Regions from separate parts of the Homo sapiens genome. Here region 2 is linked to region 1. Evidence: promoter capture Hi-C in 16 types of primary human blood cells and fetal thymus (Javierre and others, 2016). All regions are on one chromosome and are shown on one strand. Each heading gives the region's core, a stretch centred on a gene start or on the middle of the fragment in contact. The rest is flanking DNA. Distances are from core to core; before and after follow the strand shown. Region 1 holds the start of CRYBG3 (crystallin beta-gamma domain containing 3). Region 2 has its middle 18 kb from the start of GABRR3.

What was found. The method cuts DNA at HindIII sites, captures the fragments that hold promoters and counts their contacts. A CHiCAGO score of 5 or more calls a contact.
Region 2: a contact is called between a fragment that was not itself captured here and the fragment with the promoter of CRYBG3 in region 1, in 2 of 17 cell types (non-activated CD4 T cells and naive CD4 T cells). The highest score is 5.4, in non-activated CD4 T cells.

Annotation. Positions count from the first base shown.
Region 1 is chr3:97,819,162-97,826,269 of GRCh38, reverse strand. It overlaps CRYBG3 (crystallin beta-gamma domain containing 3), which reads right to left and starts at 4,259. Exons shown (of 22, transcript NM_153605.4): 1 at 3,915-4,259. The coding sequence starts at 4,063. LOC101929298 (a long non-coding RNA gene) reads left to right here and starts at 4,494. Exons shown (of 3, transcript XR_427389.3): 1 at 4,494-4,583. RefSeq lists a silencer at 4,113-4,482. The HindIII fragment of the contact is 1,453 bases long and covers 3,429-4,881 here.
Region 2 is chr3:98,050,101-98,057,208 of GRCh38, reverse strand. It overlaps the pseudogene OR5BM1P. Among named protein-coding and RNA genes, the nearest start is that of GABRR3, 18 kb to the right of the region's middle. The HindIII fragment of the contact is 1,003 bases long and covers 3,769-4,771 here.

The DNA of each region.
Region 1 (7,108 bases), core at 3,010-5,509:
AAAATAGAATTCCCAAATTAGCCATCTGGTAGACACCTTATTGAACCCAAGAGATGGAAATCACTTGGAAAAGGTGGACTTTTGATACCCTACAACAGGCTATATTTTGACTCTGCTGCCAAGAGTAAGCTTTTGCTTTGAATTAACCTAGAGGAGCAGAGGGGGACAAGATTCTCACAAATTACACACCCCTAAAGACTTCTGGAATTCTCTCGTCATCTTCACTACTGAAGGCATGAACTGCTGATGTGACACAGGTATCTCCTATCCAACTAACTAGTTACCAATTATTTTTAGTGCTTCAAATCAATAAAAATGCAATCATCATGACAATTTAGAAAACAAAGCTTCCTTTCCTCACATAACTGATGCTGTTGTCAACACTGGTAGTTTAACCTGAAGGCCAATAGCTCTCCCATGCTGGTCATCAGAAGTACTACTGACATTTCTGACAGTACAGAGTACCTCCTACACCACAGCTCATTAGCAGCCTGGTCCCACCCATTCACCTCCTCTCACGATTTAGGGTAATCACTCTCCACTGGGAGTGGTATCACTCTCCCTCCCACCCACCTGGGTGGAGGAATTTTCAGTTATCCCAATGACCAGAGGATGCTACTGGCAATTAGTGTGTGTAATCATGGATACCAAACATCTTGCAAAGGACAAAAGAGTCCAGTTCAAAGAATTGTTCCATTCAAAACGCCCATAGCATCCATCACTGAGCACTCTCCCAAACTCAGTTTCTTCAATTGTCAGATCGTAAAAGTGGACCAACATTTCACACTGAGTGTGAGATTTACATGATACGTTGCAAGTAAAAGTACCCAGCCCAGAAGTAAGTGCACAGTCAGCCCTTGATAAATACTGTTCTCACCTTACCATCTCTCTTCACAGTTACAAACATTGCACAGAACTCATTTTAAACAGGTCCATCATGCATGATACAGCCAAGAAACAAAGTTGAGCAATCATTTCTTGAAGCAGATAAAGGCAGGAATTCCTCCAAGTTTCATATTTCAGCAATATCTGTATAACAGGCTTTTGCAAAAATTCTCTGAGCCTTAAATCTAGAGCCAAACATTTTGTCTAGAGACCTTTATAACCCAGTTCCAACCTAAATTTCTTACTGCTCCTTTCACTCTGTCCCATTAATGTATATATCCCCTAACAGATCATAAACCCCTTGCAGGCCTTTGCTCAGTCTGGAATGCCTTTTCCCGGAATACCTGTTCCCTATTCTCTCTCTTCCTAAGTTCTCTTTGTATAGAAACATCACCAATTCCTTGAAGACCCAGTTAAAATCATCCCTACCAGGAAGCACTTCCTGGTCTCCCCTATCACTTCTAATGAGTCCATTCCTTGTATGCTTATAAACTGGGCTTAACACTGCACCAGTGATTCTCAAACTGGGATCCACAGAACTCTGGGAGTTTTTGAGTTTCCTATGAAAACTTCAATTGCAGTTTTCCTTTTTATCATCTAAAATAAATTAATATAAGCATTTCCTGGAAATGGTCAACCACCTAATATGAGTACAATCAAGCAATTTGAGTGCCTACGCCTAAGTTGGGATATACAATAGTGTTGATGCTAATAGGCCTTCTTTAATTGTGACAAAGAAAGAATACATAATGAAGTGTTGTCACCAACTGAAGCCCATATAAATCACAGCACACCATAAAAACAAAGATTTTCCTATGGTTCAAAACAGTAAAATATTGGAAGACCTGTATCAAGGCATGGCAGCTCCCCAAAGACCTGGTGTTTGTCCCAGTACGCATTTTGTGAGCAGGCAAAAAAACAGTTTCAGGATGTTGTAAATTCGACTTTTACGGGTCTCATAATTATGTTTTAGTTTATTTTTTAATTTTGTACTCCTCTTCATCTAAAATCATCACTACAGAAGGTATACCCAGCTCTCATAATGATAAAAGTTTTTATGCCCACAAAGAGAAATAGCCAAAATACTCTTTCATTTTGAAATAAGATCACAGTGACAAATTGCAATTCTGTTTCCAATCTTGTTAACATCAGGGTGTTGTGTTACTGGGACATTCAGTACTATAAAGCGGTTCCATTTGTTTTATTAAACTTTCAATAAAGGCTTTGTGTTTGTTTATGCCCTTGAAATGAAAGATTTAAGCTCATTTAAAACAGTAAAACACCCACATAAAGGGTCATCTGCTATCCCCCTAACATCTGGCAAGTTCCAAAAAAGATGAGAACAAAATTAGCGTTGATATAAGCACAATTAAAATCTTCATCGTTGAAAAGCCATAATTTGTGCCAATCTGGAGATGATGAGAATAGAGAAGTGGTAGGTGAACAAGGAACTAGTTGCTGGAGGGGTCAGCTCCAGTCAGTAAAGAAATTAGAATTGAGAAGTGCCTTAAAAAGCCAAAATAGGGCAGAGAGGCAAGCAGGATTTCAGGCCATTACTGACATGAGCCTGAATTTGACCTGCTTACTCCTTTCTAACACTGACTCTCAAGTTCCCAACTTTTGCTGCGCCTACTTGGGATTTCCTTGCAGACTGCGTTCATATTATCCAAGACTGTTAGTGCTGTTACGGCGGTGGCAGGCACCACAGGCTGTCTGCCCACACCAACAGAACTAGCTGACACCCTGGATGAGATCTGTCAGACTTAAAAACTATTTTTAACTTCTGTGTAACTTTGAATTTTAAACTCTCAACAGTCAGAGCAATAATAGCTGAAACGTCCCAGGAGAATAACCACTCAATTATCGTAGGAGCTTTCTTGGAAACATGTGGCATGTTATTAACAGACGGTCATAATGAAAATGTTTCACAAGCGGGGAAACCGAGGAACACACAAACGACTAAAATCACATCACAAAATCTGAATACTAATGGAATTGGCTCACTCTCAGTTCTGTTTCCTATCCATTTTTTTTAAGCCCACCAGGAAATCTTGAGTCCGAAGTAAACACGGTTTTCTGGAGTGTGTCCTTCCAATGACAATGGTCATTCTAGTGCAATCTCGGGAGAAGACAGTGTAAGCCTCTCATAAGTTTAAGAAAGCGAGCTGCGTTTTACTTAACCCCTCTTTCTTCGGGGGGATGAAAAGACTCAGAAACAGGCATTTAAATGAGGCATGTCTAAAATTTTTTGATTTTTGAACATGGGAAAGTGAAGGAAAGATAAAAATATTACAGAGAAAGGGTACATTTTGATTACTGAAACCAAGACAGCTGGAAACCTGATTTCCAGAATCTGTTTGGGAACTTGAGGCAGATGTTTCTAGGAGAGATGAGAAATAAAGAAGGGTGGCGTCATTTACATGTCCAGTCCATTTTGGTGAAAGTCTTGGGAACGCATTATCACAATTCCTTTTAAAAATCATTTTGAGAAAATTTAAATAAGATGGCAAAAATACCAGCTGAGGGGGTGACGCCCCAAAGCTTTACCTTTTCCACTTTTGCCCCGATCTCCTCCCACACAAGTGGTGCTGGGATCGCGCCCCCAATTCCCCTGGCCGACGGCTCCGCTCGGCTCACAAGTGTTTCCCATTACTGCAGGCGGGACGCCGGGGAAATCGCTTTTGCCACAGAACTTGGAGAGTAGAGCGTGTGTGGAACGGGAACCCAATCACGTCCGGGCAGGGGAAAGTGGGAAAGGAAGAGCGCGGAGCCAGGCGGGGATCGGGGGATATGCGTCCGGCTGCCGGGCAAGAACTTCACCCCGATTTAACCTGCAGAGGAGAGGCGAGTAGTGCGGCACGGGAACGGGGCAAGGAGGAGGAAACTTTAGCAATGGAGGAAGGAGAACAGAAAGTGGCGAGCGAACTGCAGCCTGGCCCAAGAGCGGCCCGCTGCCGGCGGTCAGGCCGGGAGCCTTCATCCCGCGAATATGTGCAGGGCCCCCCCGCGACCCCCTCCTCGACTCCCACCTGGCAGCGGACCGGCCTGGAGCTGGAGGCGGGCTCGTCCCCGGCCTCTCCTCCTCTTCCTCTTCCTTGTCCCGGGAAGGACTTCGGGGAGCGAAGAACCGGGAGAAGCTGTGCCAGGGGGCGCTGCCCCTTCTGCGGCCGCTGGACATTTCCCGAGGGGGCCGCTGGCCCGGGGCTGTCTGAAGGGAACGGCCTAGGTGTTGCCTGGTGCCCGGAGCCCGACCGGGCGCCGCGGGATGCGGCTAGGGCAGACCGACTCGACGCGAGCTGCCAGCGCGGCTCAGTCTCTCTCGGGCAGGAGAAGTGCGGACGCGACGCGCTCCTCGCGCGGCAGCTCCTCACGCCGCTGCGGCTGCTCCTCCTCCCGCCCTCGCCCGGCGCGGCCCGCCCCACCCCGAGGAGGAGCCAGTGGCCGCGGCACCGCCCTGAGCCGGGCGCAGCCGCCACCGCTGGGGCGCTACGTGGTCCCCCGAAGGCGCCGGCCTGAGAGCCTGAGGGGAGTCGCCCAGCGTGCGACGCTAGGCTCGGGCTTACGGCTCAAACAAGTTCAGGCTGCAGCCTGTTGGGCTTTGCCTTCAATTACTTTCTGTGACCGTTGTGTTTTCTATTCTACAGTCAGAGCACAGAAACGGTTTTCTTCGGGCTTTTGAAAGAGGTTTATGAACTAAGGTTTGTGAAAACACTTGGCAAACTGCAGTACCGGGGCGCCCCGGACTTGCTGGGAGCTAAGAAACAGCTACCGCAAATACAGCTCCAACCCTGAGGGCGAAAGTCGCGTTAGCACAGAACCGGGCGGCGGGAGGGAGAAGGGGGTACCTGTCAGGCGGTCACCACCTCCCGGCGCGTTCTGCTGGCTTTCTGTGGTGTGACTTTTCCTAACCGCGCTGTGCTTCAGACTTTTCACACGCCATACTTCCCTGCGAACTCTTTCAAAAACGGCACTGATCAAAAAGTATGATTTCAAGCTTGTCAATGCTGCAACATATTTTGCAGTCGTTACACAGATGCCACTGAAATCTGGGAACCAAAGGGTGCTTAAGACTTGTTTTAAGTCTAAGTACAGTGGTATGGATTTTTCTTGGTTTTTCATACCCTATAGCAGCTAGTACAGGAGATACTGAGAGGCCCATTCACCCCAAGTGTTTTGTTTTTGTTTGAAGGCAAGCTGCCCCTGGAGTAGACGTCAAGGAAGTGATATGGCTTTTGTTCATTAAAAAATGTATACAAGTAAATGAGATAAAAATGAAATGTCCACAGCAGAGGGGAGCCTTGGAGTAATCTCCCCTCTGGCTTTCGGGTGCTGGAGGAGAAGGTTGCTCATAAGTAGATTGCATACCTATAAGCCCCAAGTCCTTTCAGCACCTGCTGGAGGCTATTGAGCCTCCCTGCCTCCCCACGCTGCCTCCCAGAAGCCCTCCAGCTCCTACTAACTGCAATAGAGCCAAGACACTCATTCTCATTTGTTCTGGCAGGATTTAACCCATTAAAGTTCAGTCAGCCCGATTTCCATCAATCGGGTTCATCTCAGTCTATCCCTCAAGATTAATCCTTTTTTACTCTTTGGTAAATTTTTCCTATTTCTCTGTGAGCCTAGTCTGAGAAAATAGAAAAAGACTAAGATAATAGACTAGAATAAGACAAGTTCCCAATTCTAGCTTTATTATTTTATAAGAGAATCTCCACTGAAGACCCACTTACCAAAAAGCCCAAAGAGAGTAATAAAGCAAACTGTTTCTTCCAGCTAAAAGGCCCAAATGATAATTTGTCTTCCCAACGTATTATTGAATGACTATCACATTTGTCCCTGACTTGTTCTGTGATCAAACCAGGCCCCAGTGCCTACCCAGAGGGTACTTCGTTCAGGAAGTTTTTCTTGGAATAAAAATGGGGGGGAGTCAATAGGATTTAATTAATGAATTATGGTTTTAACTAATAATATATCTAACAATACTCTGATCTCCACTCGGTAGCACAGCAAAGCACTTAAGTGAATGGTAAATACAAATAATGCCATGTTTACACTAAGACAAATTGCGTCTATGACAAAATAGCTTAAAGTCATAAAACAATGACCATTGAATTTTCCTTCATTTGCTTTCTGAGCACTTATTAGTTTTCTATATGTCCTACATTGTTATAACCTGAACTCATATGAACAAATTTCTAAATACTAAATTCTAAGATTGCATTAGGAAGCCTGTAAAAATGTCAAATTTTAGAGCTGTAAGGATCTTAGAGATACTAATTTAGCACAGTGTCATTAATTCACTGATCCAGTTATTCCCCGACGTTTAGTGAGTGCCTGCAGTAGAAGCACATCTACAGTGAAGCCGATGAGGCTCAAGTTTCTTGGCTCCCTGCTGGCACAGTCTCTTCCAGTGTGAACTCAGCAATGGGATCCATGGCCAGTTTTATCAAATTTACAAAAGTAAATGTTTTAATGTGATTAAGACCACAATCTCTTTTTTTTTCCACTTAGATGTCCACTTAGATTTTCTTTTCCACTTAGAGTTATCAAGAGCATTTGGGAATCTGCTAGGGAATTTCAGTTGGGAATATATTTAGTTTGGACTTAGTGGAATATATTTATGTGGTTTCCAGCCTCTCCAAAGTATAGTTATTTCTTAAATTCCAATTTGTTTGTAGCGCAGCTCACCAAGTATTACACCCAAGATGCAGAGCCAGAGGAGATATATTCTGTGGTCTCTGACACTGAAAATATGTGGGTAATAGAGGTGAGACAAGATTTGAAAGGTAAAGCAGCATCAGGTGTCATGTGGAAAATTATTCCAGGCATCAGAAGACAAAGTTTCAACAGGAAGGATTGCCTCCGATTGATGTAATTTCTCTCATAGCAATAATATATTCAATAATGCAGTATATTTAATTTTTTTTTTGAGACAGAGTCTGGCGCTGTCACCTTGGCTGGGGTGCAGTGGTGCAATTTCAACTCACTGAAACCTCCGCCTCCTGGGTTCAAGCAATTCTCCTGTCTCAGCCTCCAGAGTGGCTGGGACTACAGGCGCCCACCACCATGCCCAGCTAATTTTTGTATTTTCAGTAGAGACGGGGTTTGACCATATTGGTCAGGCTGGTCTCGAACTCCTGACCTCAGGTAATCCACCCGTCTCAGCCACCCAAAATAATTTTTATAACTGTAAACACAAAACATTTTTTCTTGTTGATGTAAACCA
Region 2 (7,108 bases), core at 3,021-5,520, 230 kb before region 1:
ACTCTTTTTTAGGGTAAGAGTCTTTTGAATGGACTCAAGTTTGCTAAGTTTGCTTACCTTGCTTCTAGAAAGACCTGAGTTGAATTTTCTACTATGTTCTGTTGTAGTTTGGCTAAGTAAAATTGGTTACTGGATGAAAGTCTTTTCTCCTACTAGGAAGCTCCCTCCATCCACAGTATAATGCATCCCTGTCCCAGGAATTCCAGCTACATGGTCAGCAGGGCCTCCCTTGTGTAGGTATGAGCATAGGGTGGACCCACTGGAGGCTGAGCAGTTATCTTTGTAATGGTGTCAGAAAGTGTAGGCTGTCTCCTCAATCTTTTCTTCTCTTTCTCCTCTCTCATATGCTCATGTTCACTTTCAAGTTGTAGTTCCATCTCTGCCTCAGTTGCCTAGCTTGTGTGGAAATAGGTGGATGAGCTGATTCTTGCACGATTCATGTGATGTCCCTTCCCAATCTGCCAGGATCTCTCATGTTGGCCTTGGCTCCTGTGAGACAAGCTGCAGGTTCTATTTCTGACTCAGCTAGGGACTCTGAATATGTCCTCCCACACCTAGTCTCTACAGCATGTCCCAGGCCATCACTTATGAACTGAGTTATCACTATTGGACTTGGGCTTTTCTCAGTGAAAACAACTCTCCAAAAGTCCAGAGTTTAAGAAGAGGGGTTAGTCGATTGTCCCGTATCCTATTACTTCCGATCCATTCTCTCATGGGTCATGACCTCAGCCTGGAGATGACCGGAGTCTGTGATTCTAATCAATGATTTTGTTAAGCAGTTCATGGAATAGATATAGCAAGAGCTGTCATGCTCTAAATGACAGAAAATTAACTTGACTAATTTTAATTTTTTCATGTAAACCTCTGAGATGAATATGAGAATATGGAGCAGGGAAAGGCCTGTGATCTTTTGGGAGTAAAGTGAAGGTCTCTGTCCTACTAATACTGTCTGACTCTTCTGGGCTTGGCATGGTGCCAGCTTTTACAGCCAAAGTCAGTGCCTATTGGAACTATTGATCTGGTCAACTAGTATGGGTAGGGTCCCAGCTGCCCTCCAAGGCTGTTCTGACTCTCTTGGGTCTCATTGATGTGGTCACCCCTCAGGGTCTCTCTTATGTCCTCCACCTACATGTCCCAACCCACCTGTTGCATGAGTGAGTCTCTTGGCTTCTTTCTGTCGCTGCAGGAATTTGCAGGTCCTGGCCATGCAAGATGGTGATGGGGACCAGCCTCTAAAGCTTAACCTTCAAGGGTCTGCTGCCTACGTACTTTGCAAACCAAGTTTACTTTGAGGTAGCCAGGTAAGGAAGGAGCAGAGCCAGAAATGATTTCTAGTGCCATAAATTGGAATCTGGACAAAACACACTCTTTTCCAAGTCTACCTTTGATGTACGCAATAATGCTCCTGCCACATATGTACACATCTTAATTCCCAGAACCTGTGAATATGTTAGGTTACCTGGCAAAGGGGAATTCATGCTTCAGAGGTAATTAAGGTTGTATGAAAGAAACTGAGGTAACTAAGGTGCAGGCATTCTAAAGTGGAGCTAGGAGATTGTGAGAGAATTGCACTAACACCTCTAAAAGTCAAACCACAGATTGTGCCAACGGACTTGGATGAACAATGGAAGTTAGTGTCTGCCAGTCTTCAACATTTCTCACCTGGGAGTGCCCTAATTAACTAACCAATTAGTACAGCTCTGTGATTTGGGATTTCTGCTCAGCCAATGAACTGCCTCTTTAAGGGACATGATTCAGGACTCAGACATAAGTAATTTAAAAGTCTGCTCTTCAGGCTATCTTGTTAAAAGGTCAAGTACTAGATTTTTCCCACCTCAGAAACTATGAAAAAAAATGTTAAAATAAGAAATTAATTTCCATTGTTTAATATTTGCAAAACTATTGTCCCCTTTGACTATATAGCTGCCTGTGGCTGTTTTCCTCTCGGGGAGTGTGAGGATGTCAGTCCTGCTCTATGTGAATCTAGCTGAGGAAAGCATGTAGAATGTAGTACTCTGGTCTCTAGGTCTCAACCCAAATCAGTGGGGATTTTTCTTGAAATAATATAGGTGTAATGATGAGAGAGAAAGGTTATACATTGACATACGGCCACTATGTAGGCAAGACTAATCAGCCTGTATGGCATATTACATATAAAATTAGAACACTTTGTCGCTGGGGTTGACTATAGAGAGATGGAGACAGGAACTCCTGCAGAGATTCTGCAGCCACAGGGTACACCTGCTTAAAATGGAGTCCCCACAGCAGAAGGCACAGCTCAGATGCAATGAGAGGAACCGGGTTCTGAAAAAACTGAACCCTAACAAACTATTCCTAAAGCCACTGTGCCTCATTTGGGGCTTTGGGTTATATCATTCAACAAACTGCCATTTCTTCACTTTTTTTTAAAGCCAGGGTAAAAGCAATGTATTATGCATATGGAAAAATCTTTCTTGAGTATTTTCTCAAGAGAATACTCTCTTGAGTATTCTCAAGAGTCTAAGTAATAAAAGTAAGGAGGTCAAAGTTTGCCTACTCATGAAAGGGCCAGATAGAATATATACACAATGTAGGTAAGAAAAAAAATTAGCTTAATATATTTAACTGACAGTTGATCAAGCACACCTGCTGGTTCAGGCAGGTGTCAATGCCAGAAAACACTATTCAGGTAGGATATGTGTGTCAGGAATGCAGTGCTCAGTAGGACTACTCAATAAATTAAAAAGTAAAAGTTTTAGAAGAACTCAGAAATTTTCTAACTATATTGCAGAAATTTGAATTACTTTTAGTATTTTTGTTGTTACATTTACATATCTTTCAATGGAGGCAATGAAACATGTTACTTTTCAAAATTGCTTTTAAACCAAATGGAAATCTTAGTTTTAAATGTTTTAAGAGGATATGTGTTGTCATATTTGGCCTAACAGTATTATTTTTATTAACATTCTGATATATTATTATAAATATCTGCTAAAGAGAAAGTTTGAAAAATGCCTTGTTCAAGAATTATTTAGAAGTGCATGAATACTTTGAACACTTTTTAAATTATATAGGTGGGGTCTTCCTTTAAATAACTGCAAGTAAGTTCTAAAACATGTATGTCTGTATTTCATGTAGTTCATTCATGTTACAAAAACTTGTTACTAAGTCTTTGTAAAATGAATGAACTCTTGTGTTTCATTCATGTTACAAAAACAGTAATGTGGCATTATAATTTCAGTTTGAACTTCATCCTTGAGTATGTACTTAAAACAACAACAAAAATGTGGTGTTTGTCCTTAAATGCTCATTAACTATTTTAATGATCAGAATAACTTATAACTAAGACAAGAATATTTAGTCTAAATTTTTTTATTCATTCACTTAACATATTGTGTCCCTACTATGTGTAAAACACAGAAACAATTATTACGATTTGTTTTAACAGAAAGGAAATGGAAAGAATTATGAAAGTGTTCTCCAAAAATATTTCTTTATCATTGTTCTAAGTGTACCTAAAACTTCTTTGTTTTTCATACTGTAAATAAAGGAGTCTGCAGAGGAATTATAATCATGTAGAACGGAAAATACATTTCATTCCACTGTTAATCTGGGCCAGACCTGGGGCACCCATACATGAAGAAGACACTGCTATAGAACAAAGAGACAGAGAGCAGGTGGGCACTGCACATGAGGAAGCTTTTGCTTCTGCCCTTCTCAGAATTCTTTTTCAGTAAGGCAAAGAGGACTTGGGTATAAGAAACTATGATGATCATAAAAGCAAAAGCTTGTATAAAAGCAGTGAAAACCACAAAATCACTAATGAGTTAATAAATGGATCAATGTAAGAAATTGTATATTGTACACTGAAAAAATGGTAAGATTTTTTTAAAATACATATTATTTCTTGAGGGTTATAGAGGAGATTCTAGACAAGAACTAACTAGTCCCATAGCCTGCCACTCATAAGTACCTTAAAATTGAATGTATTAACAACGAAGTGTTTTAAGAGCAAAAGGTACACGGTATATTTTATGCCAAAATCTTAGAAAATGAGACTTTGTTTTGGGTTCAAAAGTGTATTTTCTCATTCTTTCAGGAACTTTTTTATCTTTCTAGAACAAAAAATGATCTGATCCTCTTGGTATTACAAACGGGACTATCACAGTCAAGGTGGAATAAAACATTACAAAAACATCATAGTAGAAAGAATGGCCAGTGTTTTGAATATCTGGATTCAATTTAAGTGATAAGTTAAATAGTAAATTATAAATTTTATTTAAATAACAAATTAAATGGGGAGAAAGGATTAACCAAATTAATAGGCAATGACTAACATAAACATAGGTAAGGCAATGCAGAAAAAGCCTCAAGCTAAAAGTGTATCCATGAGTTTTACAAGCCTGGAAAGTAAATGGAAAGGAAACTAAACGAGATCCTGTGGAAACACAGGGTGAAAAAATATGTCTGTATCATCAATACATGTCTTTAATGACAAACTTTGCATAATTCCGGACATAAAATATGTTTTACATATTCAAATCCCTGCCTTGTTGATCTAAAGCAGGAACTACCTACTTATAAAACAGTAGGCCTAAGTATACAACCATTCAAGGGAACATTTATAAGTATTAGATTTACAACTCTTAAGGTTTAATGACAAGGCCAGCCAGTAGGTGTTACAACGTGACATATTTTTATTTCTATTAACTAGTCACCAATTCTGTATAACTGTAGCTAAAGTCTTCACTTCCCAAGTCTGTGCAGGCCTGAAACTCGTTTTCTCAAAGCTTCTGCTTTGTTAACTCAAAATTAAGGCACAATAATGGAAAATTTAAGGAAAAGTTTTAGAGTTAGTGAAAAACAACAGTAAAAATACATAGAACGATTGGGATTTTTAATTTTTAATTTTTTTTATTTCCAAAGGTTTTGGGGAACAGTTGGTGTTTGGTTATATGAATAAGTTCTTTAGTGGTGATTTCTGAGATTTTGGTGCACCCATCACACAAGCAGTGTAGCCTGTAACCTGTACCCGAGGTGTAGTCTTTTATCCCTCGCCACCACCAACACTTTCCACCGAGTCCCCAAAGTCCAATGTATCGTTCTTATGCCTTTGTGTCCTCATAGCTTAGCTCCCTCATATAAGTGAGACCATACAATGTTTGGTTTTCCATTCCTGAGTTACTTCACCTAGAATATTAGTCTGCAATTCCATCCAGGTTGCTGCAAATGCCATTCTTTCATTCTTTCTTATGGCTGAGTAGTATTCCGTTATATCTATCTATCTATCTCACATTTTCTTTATCCACTTGTTGATTGATGGGCATTTGGGCTGGTTCCACATTTTTGCACCTGCAAATTGTGCTACTATAAACATGTGTGTGCAAGTATCTTTTTCATATAATGGCTTCTTTTCCTCTGGGTAGATACCTAGCAGTGGGATTGCTGGATCAAATGGTAGATCTACTTTTAATTTTTTTTTTTTTTTTTGAGACGGAGTCTTGCTCTGTCGCCCAGGCTGGAGTGCAGTGGTGCGATCTCGGCTCTCTGCAAGCTCCGCCTCCTGGGTTGACGCCGCCTCAGCTTCCCGAGTACCTGGGACTACAGGCGCCCACTACCACGCCCGGCTAATTTTTTGTATTTTTAGTGGAGACAGGGTTTCACCATGTTGGCCAGGATGGTCTCGATCTCTTGACCTCGTGATCCACCCCACTAGACCTCCAAAAGTGCTGGGATTACAGGCATGAGCCACCGCGCCCGGCCTACTTTTAATTTTTTAAGGAATTTTCACGCTGTTTTCCATAGTGGTTGCATTAGTTTGCATTCCCATCAACAGTGTAAAAGTGTTCTCTTTTCACCACATCCACGTCAACATTAATTTTTTTTTCTTTATTCTTGCAGGAGTGAGGTGGTATCGCATTGTGGTTTTGATTTGCATTTCCCCCATAATTAGTGATGTTGAGCATTTTCCCATATGTAAGCGGCATAATGTATAAAATTCCATAATTGTGGCTGAATAGGAAAGCTCAATCTATTAAAACTTAACTTTCACAAATAAACATAAATTTCATATAATTTTATACAAAATCATACGGAGGTAATTTGTCTAGAAAATTCTAATTTATCTGGAAAAGCAAATGTGTAAAAAAAAAAAGCCAACATAATTTTTTTTTTAAAAAAAAAGGAAGTTCATGTTCCATGCCAGATATTGCAATTTATCAGAAAGTTACTTTAACAATTGAAACCATGTTTAACGTCATCAAGGTTCACTGTGGGTATATTCACTAAAATTGGAGCGTCTGTTTATAGACATGGGGAAGGAAAAATAGCAAAGCTGATTAAGAGCACAGACTTTGGAAAAGGCAGTTTTGGTGGCTTTGCTTCTGAGACTTTGGTCAAATAACTTAAAATGTCTAAACCTTGGTTTCCTCACTTGTGAAATAAAGTTAATAATGTGCACTTACAAAGTTGTTGCAAGAATCAAATGAGAAGATGAATGTCAAGCCCTCACCCCTGTACTTGATAGATAGGTAAGGAATCATTAAATGGTGGTGACTTTAATTATTTCACTCTGTCTCCCAGGCTGGAGTGCAGTGGTGCAATCTCAGCTCACTGCAACCTCGGCTTACTCGGTTCAAGCAATTCCCCTGCCTCAGCCTCCTGAGTAGCTAGGACCACAGGTGTGAGCCACCACCCAAGGCTAATTTTTGTACTTTTAGTAGAGATAGCATTTCATCATGTTGGCCAGGCTGGTCTCGAACTCCTGACCTCTGGTGATCCCCCACCGTCTCGGCCTCCCAAAGTGCTGGGACTAGAGGCATGCGCCACTGTGCCCAGACAGTTATTTCTGTTATTTATTTTAATTATTCACAAGGAAAGCAGCAACGCTGTTTTGTAAGAGAATCGCATTCTGAGTGAGAAAATCAAGATATGTGCTGTTGATTTGCCAAATTCTTGACAATAACAACTTAACCCTGTACACAAAATAACTTTTACAACCAACTCAAGCCATCTGCAAGTTGTCATGGAGACCAGAAAATAGTGATTTAGGTTAAGCAAATGAGGCACATCTTCTAGAACGACAAAAACTATAGGTATAGCATGTTTTAAAGAGAAACATTTAACATTT